2 separate regions of the Homo sapiens genome follow, and region 2 is linked to region 1. Evidence: promoter capture Hi-C in 16 types of primary human blood cells and fetal thymus (Javierre and others, 2016). All regions are on one chromosome and are shown on one strand. The core of a region is centred on a gene start or on the middle of the fragment in contact, and the rest is flanking DNA. Distances in the headings are between cores, read along the strand shown. Region 1 holds the start of CAAP1 (caspase activity and apoptosis inhibitor 1). Region 2 overlaps IFT74 (intraflagellar transport 74).

The links. Contacts are between HindIII fragments. The CHiCAGO score rates a contact against its expected background, and 5 or more counts as called.
Region 2: a contact is called between a fragment that was not itself captured here and the fragment with the promoter of CAAP1 in region 1, in 3 of 17 cell types (non-activated CD4 T cells, total CD4 T cells and total CD8 T cells). The highest score is 5.9, in non-activated CD4 T cells.

The regions. Positions count from the first base shown.
Region 1 is chr9:26,890,173-26,895,578 of GRCh38, reverse strand. It overlaps CAAP1 (caspase activity and apoptosis inhibitor 1), which reads left to right and starts at 2,777. Exons shown (of 6, transcript NM_024828.4): 1 at 2,777-3,166. The coding sequence starts at 2,864. RefSeq lists enhancers at 2,548-2,617, 2,219-2,798, 2,748-2,967, 3,048-3,227, 2,799-3,378. The HindIII fragment of the contact is 2,677 bases long and covers 2,313-4,989 here.
Region 2 is chr9:27,027,269-27,032,810 of GRCh38, reverse strand. It overlaps IFT74 (intraflagellar transport 74), which reads right to left. Exons shown (of 20, transcript NM_025103.4): 13 at 3,707-3,786. Among named protein-coding and RNA genes, the nearest start is that of LRRC19, 24 kb to the right of the region's middle. The HindIII fragment of the contact is 2,918 bases long and covers 2,722-5,542 here.

The DNA.
Region 1 (5,406 bases), core at 1,528-4,027:
CCATTCTCTTGCCTCAGCCTCCTGAGTAGCTGGGACTACAGGCGCCTGCCACCACGCCCAGCTAATTTTGTTTTTGTATTTTTAGTAGAGACGGGGTTTCACCGTGTTAGCCAGGATGGTTTCCATCTTCCTCATGATCCACCCGCCTCGGCCTCCTAAAGCACTGGGATTACAGGCGTGAGCCACCATGCCTGGCCCAGACTCTTCTTTTAATAAGGACACCAGTTATATTAGATTAGGGACCCACCCTTATGACTTCATTTAACCTTAATTACCTCCTTAATGACCCTATCTCCAAATTCAGTCACATTGGGGTTAGGGATTCAACATATGAATTCTGTGGGTGATGTTATAGGACCATCAGGTTCTATTAACCACTACATGGTACCAGACCAATACATGGAAACAGCAGGAGTTGCAGCAGAGAAAGAGTTTAATAATGGTATGCCAGCCAAGGGAGAAGATGGGAGGGAACCTCAAATCACCTCCCCAGTAAGTTTTTGGACAGGGGTTTTTAAGGGAATTTTGGTGGGTAGGGGGCTGAGGAGCTAGGGGTTGCTGATTGGTTAGGGCATGGGGGATGTAATCATAAGGAGGTAGAAAGTGCATTCTTGTGCTGAGTTCGTTTCTCAGAAGGGGTCTTCAGACTGAGTAGCATCAGTGACCCCACTGATATGGTTCCAATGACTGGAGGAACACCACAGTCTTTTGTCTCGTGCTGGTTTAAATAAAACGATACAGACACAAGTGGAATTGTTTTAAGGAGCGGAGAATTTAATAGGCAAGAAAGAAGAGGCTCCCTCATACAGAACCAGAGGGAAGAGGGCTCCCAGATGAAAGAGGGAACCTTGGGTGCAGCAGACAAGAGCCAGTTATATTATGAGGCTGGAGGAGGTGGTGACTAATTTGCATATGACCCAGGGAATTGGTTTGACCAGGTATGTCATTCACGTAGCCTGCAAAAAAAGTGGCCCTCCCACCCTAGCCTTTTAATATGCGAATGTAGGGTGCCACAATGTTCTACACATGTGGGGATATGTGGGGATGGCCATGTTGCTAGGCACATGTGGGGACAAGAAGAAGAGGGGAATCGCCATACTGAGTAAACCCAGTTTCTAACGGCCTGCATTTGCATATCATAGCTTGCCAGCCCAGCTTTTTTGCTAGACAAGAAACATTTCTGGAGCTGCTTTAAAAGAAAAAAAACTTCCCAAAGACCCCTTTACCTCTCTATCTGCCTAAAATAATTTCTTAACTTCTGTAACACCATTGGAGTACAGAATCTGGTAAATATCTCAAAATGGAAAACTTGAGATTTCTTAACCGAGTCAAAGATATCTATAAAGCAATAAGCAGCTATAAGGAAGTGGGCTATAGGAAAAGTTGGTTAACGTTTAGCTATGCTTCTACTAAAAGCTTATCTTTTGTCACAAATCCAGCAATTTGGCAGGGCACGATGGCTCACGCCTGTAATCCCAGCACTTTGGGAGGCTGAGGCGGGTGGATCACCTGAGGTCGGGAGTTCGAGACCAGCCTGACCAACATGGAGAAACCCCTTGTCTACTAAAAATACAAAATTAGCCCTGCATGGTGGCGCATGCCTGTAGTCCCAGCTACTCAGGAGGCTGAGGCAGGAGAAATGCTTGAACCCGGGAGGCGGAGGTTGCAGTGAGCCGAGATTGTGCCATTGCACTCCAGCCTGGGCAACGAGAGTGAAACTCCGTCTCAAAAAAAAAAAAAAGAAAAAAGAAAAAATCTAGCAATTTAGTTTTATTAAAATTATGATGGTTTCAGGGACACAATTCATAACAGGTTTATAAATGTAACATGTTATTAATTTTATGTGTTTTTCCTATCTGTGAACACAACACTCTCAATCCTTTCAGGTATGACTCCAATGAGTGTGATACTTAACGGAACTCCTGGGAACACAGTGGGCTCAGCCCCAGGATTTACCTTACAAGGCCAATTTAAGAGTGGGGCCTGGGGGAAGACAGTTTTCCTAGGGCTGGAAGTGTCCCTATTTATTAACCCTAGGCTGGTTTTAGGCATTTAAGTAGTTGTTGAATGACTGAGACAAATAGGAGACAAAGAGAAGGGAAGCTTCTTTAATTGCTTCTTACCCCAGGGAAAGGCACAGAATTACTACCACCCAGCTAGCTTTGCCCCAGGCTCTACCTTTTTCCCTCAGTGGCTAAAGGCCCCTGCTGAAACGACAAAGACCTTGGTTCACGTTTTAAGTGTTCTAGCTCCCTTGTCTTAAAATCTGCCTTCTATTTAGATTACATCCACCCATAAAATCTCATAAAGCTTTGACCCATTCTCAATTTTCAAAAACGAACTCAAGCTCTACTTGTCCATGTCAGACTCTACGCAAGAAATACCTAATTTGCCCAGGTGATGAGGAAAATGAGATGGAACAACTTTTCCCTATTCTCTTTATTGTCATAGCGTTGTTAATATCTTAAGATTTGGAGGTAAACGGAAATGGAGAATCAGCAACTATACTTCAACCTTATTGTAAACAGACAAAACACTAACAATAAAAAGTTTTGAAGTTAAAAGGACGTAAGTTCCACCTTCTATCCTTTGTAGAGATATAAAAACAAAACAAAACAAACTCTGACTAGACAGGCTACCCGCTACACACTCAAATCGACCTCCGCGACCGGAGGGGGAAGCGCAACTGGTTATGGCAACCCCCCTGCCACCCCGGCCCATAACGCTTCACCACGTTCTGTGCCACGGCCGGAAGTGACGCATAACCTGCGACGCCAGTGCCTGCCGCCCACGGCCGCAGGAGTCGGGCTTCGGTCGCACCAGAGACAGCGGACTTTCCTCCGATGGTTGCAGCAGAGGGATCATGACGGGGAAAAAGTCCTCCCGGGAGAAACGGCGCAAACGTAGCAGTCAGGAGGCGGCCGCAGCGCTCGCGGCCCCGGACATCGTACCCGCGTTGGCCAGCGGCAGCAGTGGAAGCACTAGCGGCTGCGGGAGCGCCGGGGGCTGCGGGAGCGTCAGCTGCTGTGGGAACGCCAATTTTAGTGGAAGTGTCACCGGCGGTGGGAGCGGCGGCAGCTGTTGGGGCGGGAGCAGCGTGGAGCGCAGCGAGCGCCGGAAGCGGAGGAGTACCGACTCTTCCAGCGTCTCGGGCTCCTTGCAGCAGGTGCGTGCGCGCCCCTCTGGCCGCTTCCTGGAGCTGCTGCTTTTTCGGAAGAAGTCGGGCTTCCAGAGGGATGGGGCGCAGGCTGGAGCTCACTGCTAGCGCGGCAATCTCAAGGTCGTCCGTCCTTGAGGTTCATGTTCCTACCTAAGTCCTGGTGAGCCCCACACTCCCATCCGTGTCTTGAATCTTGAACTTCAAGTTTCTGGATTTCCTGATCACTTTTTTTTTAATTTATTTTTTAAACTCTTGGCTCCTTCCACTCCTATGGTTTCACTCTGCCGGAAGAATACGAGTTGGAAGCTAGCCTTCATTTCCCTTGCGAGCCAAACACTTCTCCCTTCGTCTTCACCTTTTCGTAGATATGGTTAACTCCGCATTAGAGATAAGAAAATTGAGGCCCAAAGAAGTTAAACTTTACCCACGGTCACAGAGTTTGTTAATAGCTCCTAGGTTTGAATCCAAATATCTGACTACAAAAGCCATGTTCTTTATACGCCACCAGTCTGCCAAGAGAACGCCGTTTTAAAAAAGTTCATAATTTGTTTGAAAACAAATGAATGAATAGGTACTTTAAATTCATTCAATGAGGAAATAAAGGGAAAGCGTCAAGTCCCTTTTCTTGCCCCTCCATTAGTATTTTGATACGCGGCCTCTTTTAATCACTCCTCGTGAGATACGTGTTTTTAAGTTCCTACACTTAAGCTGTATTGTGTTATTCCCGCTGTTGAATACCTGCATTGTTGTGATAGGCTTCTTTATATACGTGGTTTGTTATTTTTACTGACTGCCTGGTATTGTATTATATTTTTCTGATATTTGGGTGTGCAGGTTTTTTTGTATTGTTGTGACTACAATACAAACACCTTTATGTATATATCTCCTACAAGAGTTATGTTGGGAGAGAGTGTGAGAACTGAAATTCCTGGGTCAAAGTTTATGCTATTAAAAACTTATGAATGCCACCAAATGCTTTCCAAATGAGACTTTACAGATTTATAGTCCAAACAGTATATATATAAGAATACCTATTTCTGAGATTCTTAACTAGCTTTTGATGACATTTTGATGGCATTTTTTAAAAAAATTGCCAGACTAGTGGGTCAAATTAATAGTTTGTTTTAATTTTTATTTTCCTTATTAGTGAGATTGAACATTTTAATATTTTTATTTGCCATTTGATTTCTTCTTATGTAATTTTCTGTACATATCCTCTGCTCATTATTCTCTTTGGTAGAGTAGAAACAGTTTATGTAGAGATTTTATCAGGTGGTTTTCTGGCATTCTGTTGAGATGATCACATACTTTTTCTCCTTTAGTCAGATAATGTAATTTGTTGATAAGTTAGTTGATGTTGAACAGTCTTTGGAGTCTTGGGACAAGTGCTGTTTGGTTTGTTGAGTTTGTTGTACTTGGCTGGAATTCAGTATTTTTACTTTCATGTATGTGTTTCTTTTTTTTTGTTTTTTTTGAGACGGAGTCTCGCTCTGTTGCCCAGGCCGGAGTGCAGTGGCGTGATCCCGGCTCACTGCAAGCTCCGCCTCCCGGGTTCAGGCCATTCCCCTGCCTCAGCCTCCCGAGTAGCTGGGACTGCAGGCGCCCGCCACGACGCCCAGCTAATTTTTTGTATTTTCAGTAGAGACGGGGTTTCACCGTGTTAGCCAGGATGGTCTTGATCTCCTGACCTCGTGATCCACCCGTCTCGGCCTCCCAAAGTGCTGGGATTACAGGCGTGAGCCACCGTGCCCGGCCAACTTTTATGTATATGTTTCTAAATTAGATCAGACTGTAGTTTTTATTTTTGTAATGGATTGAATTAGGAAGCTTTGTGTTTTTTTGGTGTGTTCTAGAATGGTTTATATTTTCTTCTCAAATATTTGTCAGAAGTATCTGGGTCTAGTGGAGTTTTTTAGAGTGATTTTTTAAGACACTCTTTAAAAAAATTATTTAATATAGATCTATTCAGTTTTCCCACCCCTTCTAGATTCAGTTTTGGATATTACCATTCTTATTTTAAATAGTTTCCTTTTTTTTTTTCTTTTTTTGAGATAGGCTCTCACTGTGTCGCCCAGGCTGGAGTGCAGTGGCACCATCTCAGCCCACTGCAACCTCCGCCTGCCAGGTTCAAGTAATTGTCCTGGCTCAGTCTCCTGAGTAGCTGGGATTACAGGTGCCCGCCACCATGGCCAGCTAATTTTTGTATTTTTAATAGAGGTAAGGTTTTCACCATGTTGGTCAGGCTG
Region 2 (5,542 bases), core at 2,931-5,430, 140 kb before region 1:
TACTGCAACCTCTGCCTCCCGAGTTCAAGCGATTCTCCTACTTCAGCCTCCTGAGTAGCTGGGATTACAGGTACACACCACCATGCCTAGCTAATTTTTGTATTTTTAATAGAGATGGGGTTTCACCATGTTGGTCAGGCTGGTCTCGAACTCCTGACCTCATGATCCGCCTGCCTCAGCCTCCCAAAGTGCTGGGATTACAGGCGTGAGCCACTGCACCCGGCCAGGACACTTTTTTTTTAAGCTGAAAAGGATGACCTCCTATAAGCTGAGGCTAATTGCCCAGTTAATGAAAGCATGAGGATGGTCATTTAAGGCAAAACACACAAAAAAAATCTTTTTAAAAATAAGTAAAATGATCTACCTTCAAGGTGCTTAAAGTTTCAGAAATTCTAGGTAATTAAGGCTTATAATTGTCATTTCCTGGTATGAATGGCACGTTGAACATGCACATCTAATTTTGATCCTCCCGCAAACCCCACTAAAACTATAGCAAAAAGAATTTTTAAAGGTAGAAACCCCCAGCATATAGAAATAGGAGACAACAGCAATAACATTTTGGAAGCTGAAAGGAGATGGAGAACTGGTAACTGACCTAGCAGACTTGAGAAAGTTGAAATCTAAGCCAGCATTGGGTGAAGCTGAGAACTACCCTGATTTCAAAAGGCTCAGTATTTTTGCATAGAAAACTGATCACTTTTTTTGTGATTTGTGTAAGGCTTTGACATGTCTTATAATAGTAATGCTGTTCTTTATAGAATTTATTCAATGTAAGGGAATACACTAGTAAAGAGTAAAACACCAGGCACAGTGGCTCACACCTGTAATCCCCACACTTTAGGAGGCCAAGGCAGAAAGACTGCTAGAGCCAAGCACGTTGAGATCAGCCTGGGCAACAGAGCAAAACCCTGTCCCTACAAAAAAAGTTTTCAACAATTAGCTGGGCATGGTGGTGTGCACCTGTAGTCCTAGCTACTCAGGAGTTTATTTTACATTTTATTTTATTTTATTTTACATTTTATTTTATTTATTTTATTTTATTTTATTTTATTTTATTTTATTTTATTTTATTTTATTTATTATTTTATTTAGCTAAGGCAAGAGGATCACTTGAGCCCAGGAGTTTGAGGCTGCAGTGAGCTATGTTGTCACACCACTGTACTCCAGCCTGGGTGACAGAAAGACCCTATCTCATTAAAAAAAAAAAAAAAAATGAGTAAAGTTAAGGGCCTGATTTCAGCTAAGTGGTCGAAGAAACTATTTACTCTGAAGGACTTCAATATAAGATATAAACTCTCAAGTATTAATCTGTAGTAAGAATAAAAGAATTTCTTTTTTTTTTTTAAGACGGAGTCTCGCTCTGTCACCCAGGCTGGAGCATAGAGGCGCGATCTTGGCTCACTGCAAGTTCCGCCTCCTGGGTTCACACCATTCTCCTGCCTCAGCCTCCTGAGTAGCTGGGACTACAGGCGCCCACCACCAGGCCCGGCTAATTTTTTGTATTTTTTAGTAGAGACAGGGTTTCACCGTGGTCTCGATCTCCTGACCTGGTGATCCGCCCACCTCGGCATCCCAAAGTGCTGGGACTACAGGCGTGAGCCACCGCACACGACCTAAAAGAATTTCTTAACAGATTCCTTAACAAAAACAAGCTGGGCACAGTAACATGGACCTGTAGTCCCGGCTACTTGGAAGGCTGAGGCAGTAGGACTGCTTGAGCCCAGGAGTTCAAGGCCACAGTAAGCTATGATCATGCCTGTAAATAGTCACTGCACTCTAGCCTGGCCAACACAGCAAGATTCATCTCCATTTAAAAACAAAAAAGTCACTTGGCTATATGTTAGAAGTAAGCCTTGAGGATAAAAACATCCTTATTAAAAATAGTATCCCATGTTGAGTGAAAATATAAGCTGCTATTGTCCACTTGGTGTGTTCTGCTTTACTTGGAAGAACAATACTTTTTCTATTACTTTCCCTTGCTTATACAGAGCCAATATTTTAAAAAGCAATAATTAAGCAAATATGCAATTGTTGGCATTTCAACTAAGAAAGGAGAAATCAGGATGGGTTCAGGCTTTTTGGAAAGTAGCATGACATCTGCCAATAATACTCCGCTTTACTAATGATGCAGAGCTTGTAGCCAAATTCTGACCATATAACTTTCATTAGAGCTATTTCTCATTGTTTCTAGTTAGCACACACATACACAAATTCCTTCCCTGCTAAAATATAGAACAGTGTACCCTTTTTTTTTTTTTTTTTTGAGACGGAGTCTTGCTCTGTCACCCAGGCTGGAGTGCAGTGGTGTGATCTTGGCTCACTGCAACCTCCGCCTCCTGGGTTCAAGCCATTCTCCTGCCTCAGCCTCCCAAGTAGCTGAGATTACAGGCATGCGCCACTACTAAAAATTTAAAACTTAGCTGGATGTAGTGGCAGACGTTATATATTCCCAGCTACTCAGGAGGCTGAGACAGGAGGATCACTTGAACCCAAGAGTCTGAGGTTGCAGTGAGCTGTGATTGAGCCACTGCACCGCTATGAATGTTTCCTTAGCCATAACAAGAATACATGTACATGTGCACACTGTTTATACCATACCTAACTCATAAGAATATACAATCAATTCTTGATAATCCAAGAGCATAGTAACTGGTTTGCAGTTAAACTATGATTAAAATGCTATGGAGAATCTACTTTTATCTTTCTTATTAGGGAGAAGCTTGTTAGGAAACTGATGCTCAACCTCCTCCTTTAACCATAAATAACAATGTAGCCCCCACACCCAAACCCCCACCACAGTATTTCTACATAGTCAAACCCCAAGCTCCCTCAGGTGTTCTGGTACCTGCATTAGTTCTTCAAATTCCACTCCTGGGGAAAGTTGGGGAGGATAAGGTTAATCAGTCTTTGCTACTTCATTACTAGACCTGGGTGGGGAATTAATTCTGTCTGGATTATTTGTGTGGTATTTGTGATTTGATTTTCATCCCCTCTAACGCTACCAGTTACTGCCATTAGTAGTTGACTATATTATTATTATTTAATTAATTTATTTATTTATTGAGACCGAGTTTCACTCTTGTGGCCCAGGATGGAGTGCAGTGGTGCGATCTTGACTCACCGCAACCTCTGCCTCCGAGTTCAAGTGATTCTCCTGCCTCAGCCTTTCCGAATAGCTGGGATTACAGGCCTGTGCCACCACGCCCGGCTAATTTTTGTATTTTTAGTAGAGATGTGGTTTCTCCATGTTGGTCAGGCTGGTCTCGAACTCCCGACCTCCGATGATCTGCCCGCCTCAGCTTCCCAAAATGCTGGGATTACAGGCGTGAGCCACCACACCCGGCCGACTATATTGTTTATAGTAAACTATTGACTATTACTAGGAAGGAAGTGTAACTTAGGAGGAAGTATAACTTAGGAATCTCTAACAACTTTAAACATTTTACTTCTGTTTTTGTAAAAAAAAAAACAAACTGCTTGGCAAAGCTAAATAAATTTTATGCAATCATTTTAACTCATAAGTGGTCAGTTTAAATCATTGCTTTAATATTACTCATACAGTATATATTTTAGTAAAGTTAGTAATATCATAGAGAATTAAATAATAAATCCCAGGTAGTTGAACAGTCTCTGAGACACCAGTTAACACTATATTAATACTGCTAAACATCTGTTAATCTACATTATAAAAATACCAGAAGCATACCTTGGTGTTCCTCTAAATCCATGTCAAGTTGTCTAATTTCTTCAATAAACTGATTTATCTTTTCTTTTGTATCTGTTAACCTGTTGAAAATATTTTTAATGAATTTATGAAGGAAATATAGACATTCAATAAAAACAATTGATGGGGAGGTTAGATATCTTTTCCAAGTTGCATAAACAATATCTAAAAATAATATGTCTTATTCTAAGGACAATACTATAACTGACGATGACATTAGGATATCTTTTACAAATTGCATAAATATCGAAAAATAGCATATCCTATTATGAGGACAATACTATAAATTTAGAGAGGAAGAATCTTGTCTAGATCTTTTTTTTTTTTTCTTTGAGACGGGGTCTCGCTCTGCCACCAGGCTGAAGTTCAGTGGTGCGATCTCGGCTCACTGCAATCTCTGCCTCCCGGGAAAAAGCGATTCTCCTGCCTCAGCCTCCCGAATAGCTGGGACTAGAGGCACGCGCCTCCATGCCCAGCTAATTTTTGTATTTTTAGTAGAGACGGGGTTTCACCATGTTGGCCATGATGGTCTCGATCTCTTGACCTCGAGATCCACCTGCCTCAGCCTCCCAAAGTGCTGGGATTACAGGCGCGAGCCACTGCGCCAAGCATAGATCTTTTTTACTGATTCATATTTGGAGCCCAGGTATATTCTGAGAACACTAGTTGCCTGAGTTAAACAGCACACCCCCTCCCAACTTTCCTTTGAGTTTGATTTGCAGTATTAAGAAAATGAAAAATATTTAACAATACTTTTTGTAGGTTTCTATAAGCCAAATTAAGTTGGAAAATTAGTCTCAAAAATGAGAAAATAAGGGAAAACCTACCACTGGCAGAAGATTATATAGGTTAATATTTTAACATAAAGCAGTTATACTTACTCTAAAGCTACCATAACAAAACAATGTAGTATAGGCATAGGGATAGACATATATATCAATGGACTAAAATTGTGAGTCCAGAAATATGACCATATATCTATAGCTAACCGATTTTTGATAAGGGTGCTAAGGTAATTAAATGGGGAAAGAAGAGTATTTTCAATAAATGGTGCTGGGAAAAGTGCATATGCAGAAGCTAAGGGACTCCTACCTCACATCATACACAGAATTAACTTGAAATGGATCAAAGATCTCAATGTAAGAACTAAATTACCAAACTCTTAGAAGAAAACATAGACATAGTCTTTATGACCTTGGATTAGGCATTGGTTTCTTAGATATGACACTAAAAGCAAGAGCAACAAAAGAAAAATAGAAAAACTGGACAAAATCAAAATTGGAAACTTTTATGCTTCCAAAGACACCAAGAAAATGAAAAGATAATTCATAGAATTCATAGAACAAGGGAAAATTTTTACAAATCATGTATCTGATGACACCTCTATCTAGCATATATAAGGAAATGTTACAACTCAGTAATCAAAAACAATCTAGTTTAAAAAATGAGCAAATGAACTAAGTAAACATTTCCCCCAAAGAATATGGCCAATAAGCATATGAAAGGAACCTCAACATCATTAGCCATCAAACAAATACAAATCAAAACCATAGTGAGACACCGCTTCATACCCATTAGGAATGGCTATAATAGAAAAAGAGATAATAACAAGTGAGGATGTGAAAAACTGGAACCCTCACATGCTGCTCATATGCTGCTCTTATTATATTACATAGAAATGTAAAACAGTACCAATTCTTTGAAAGTCTGATAGAATTCAGCTGTGGCTCCATCTGGTCCTGGACTTTTTGTTGGCAATTTTTTTTTTTTAACCATTTCAATCTCACTGCTCGTTAATGGTCTGTTCAGAGTTTCTAT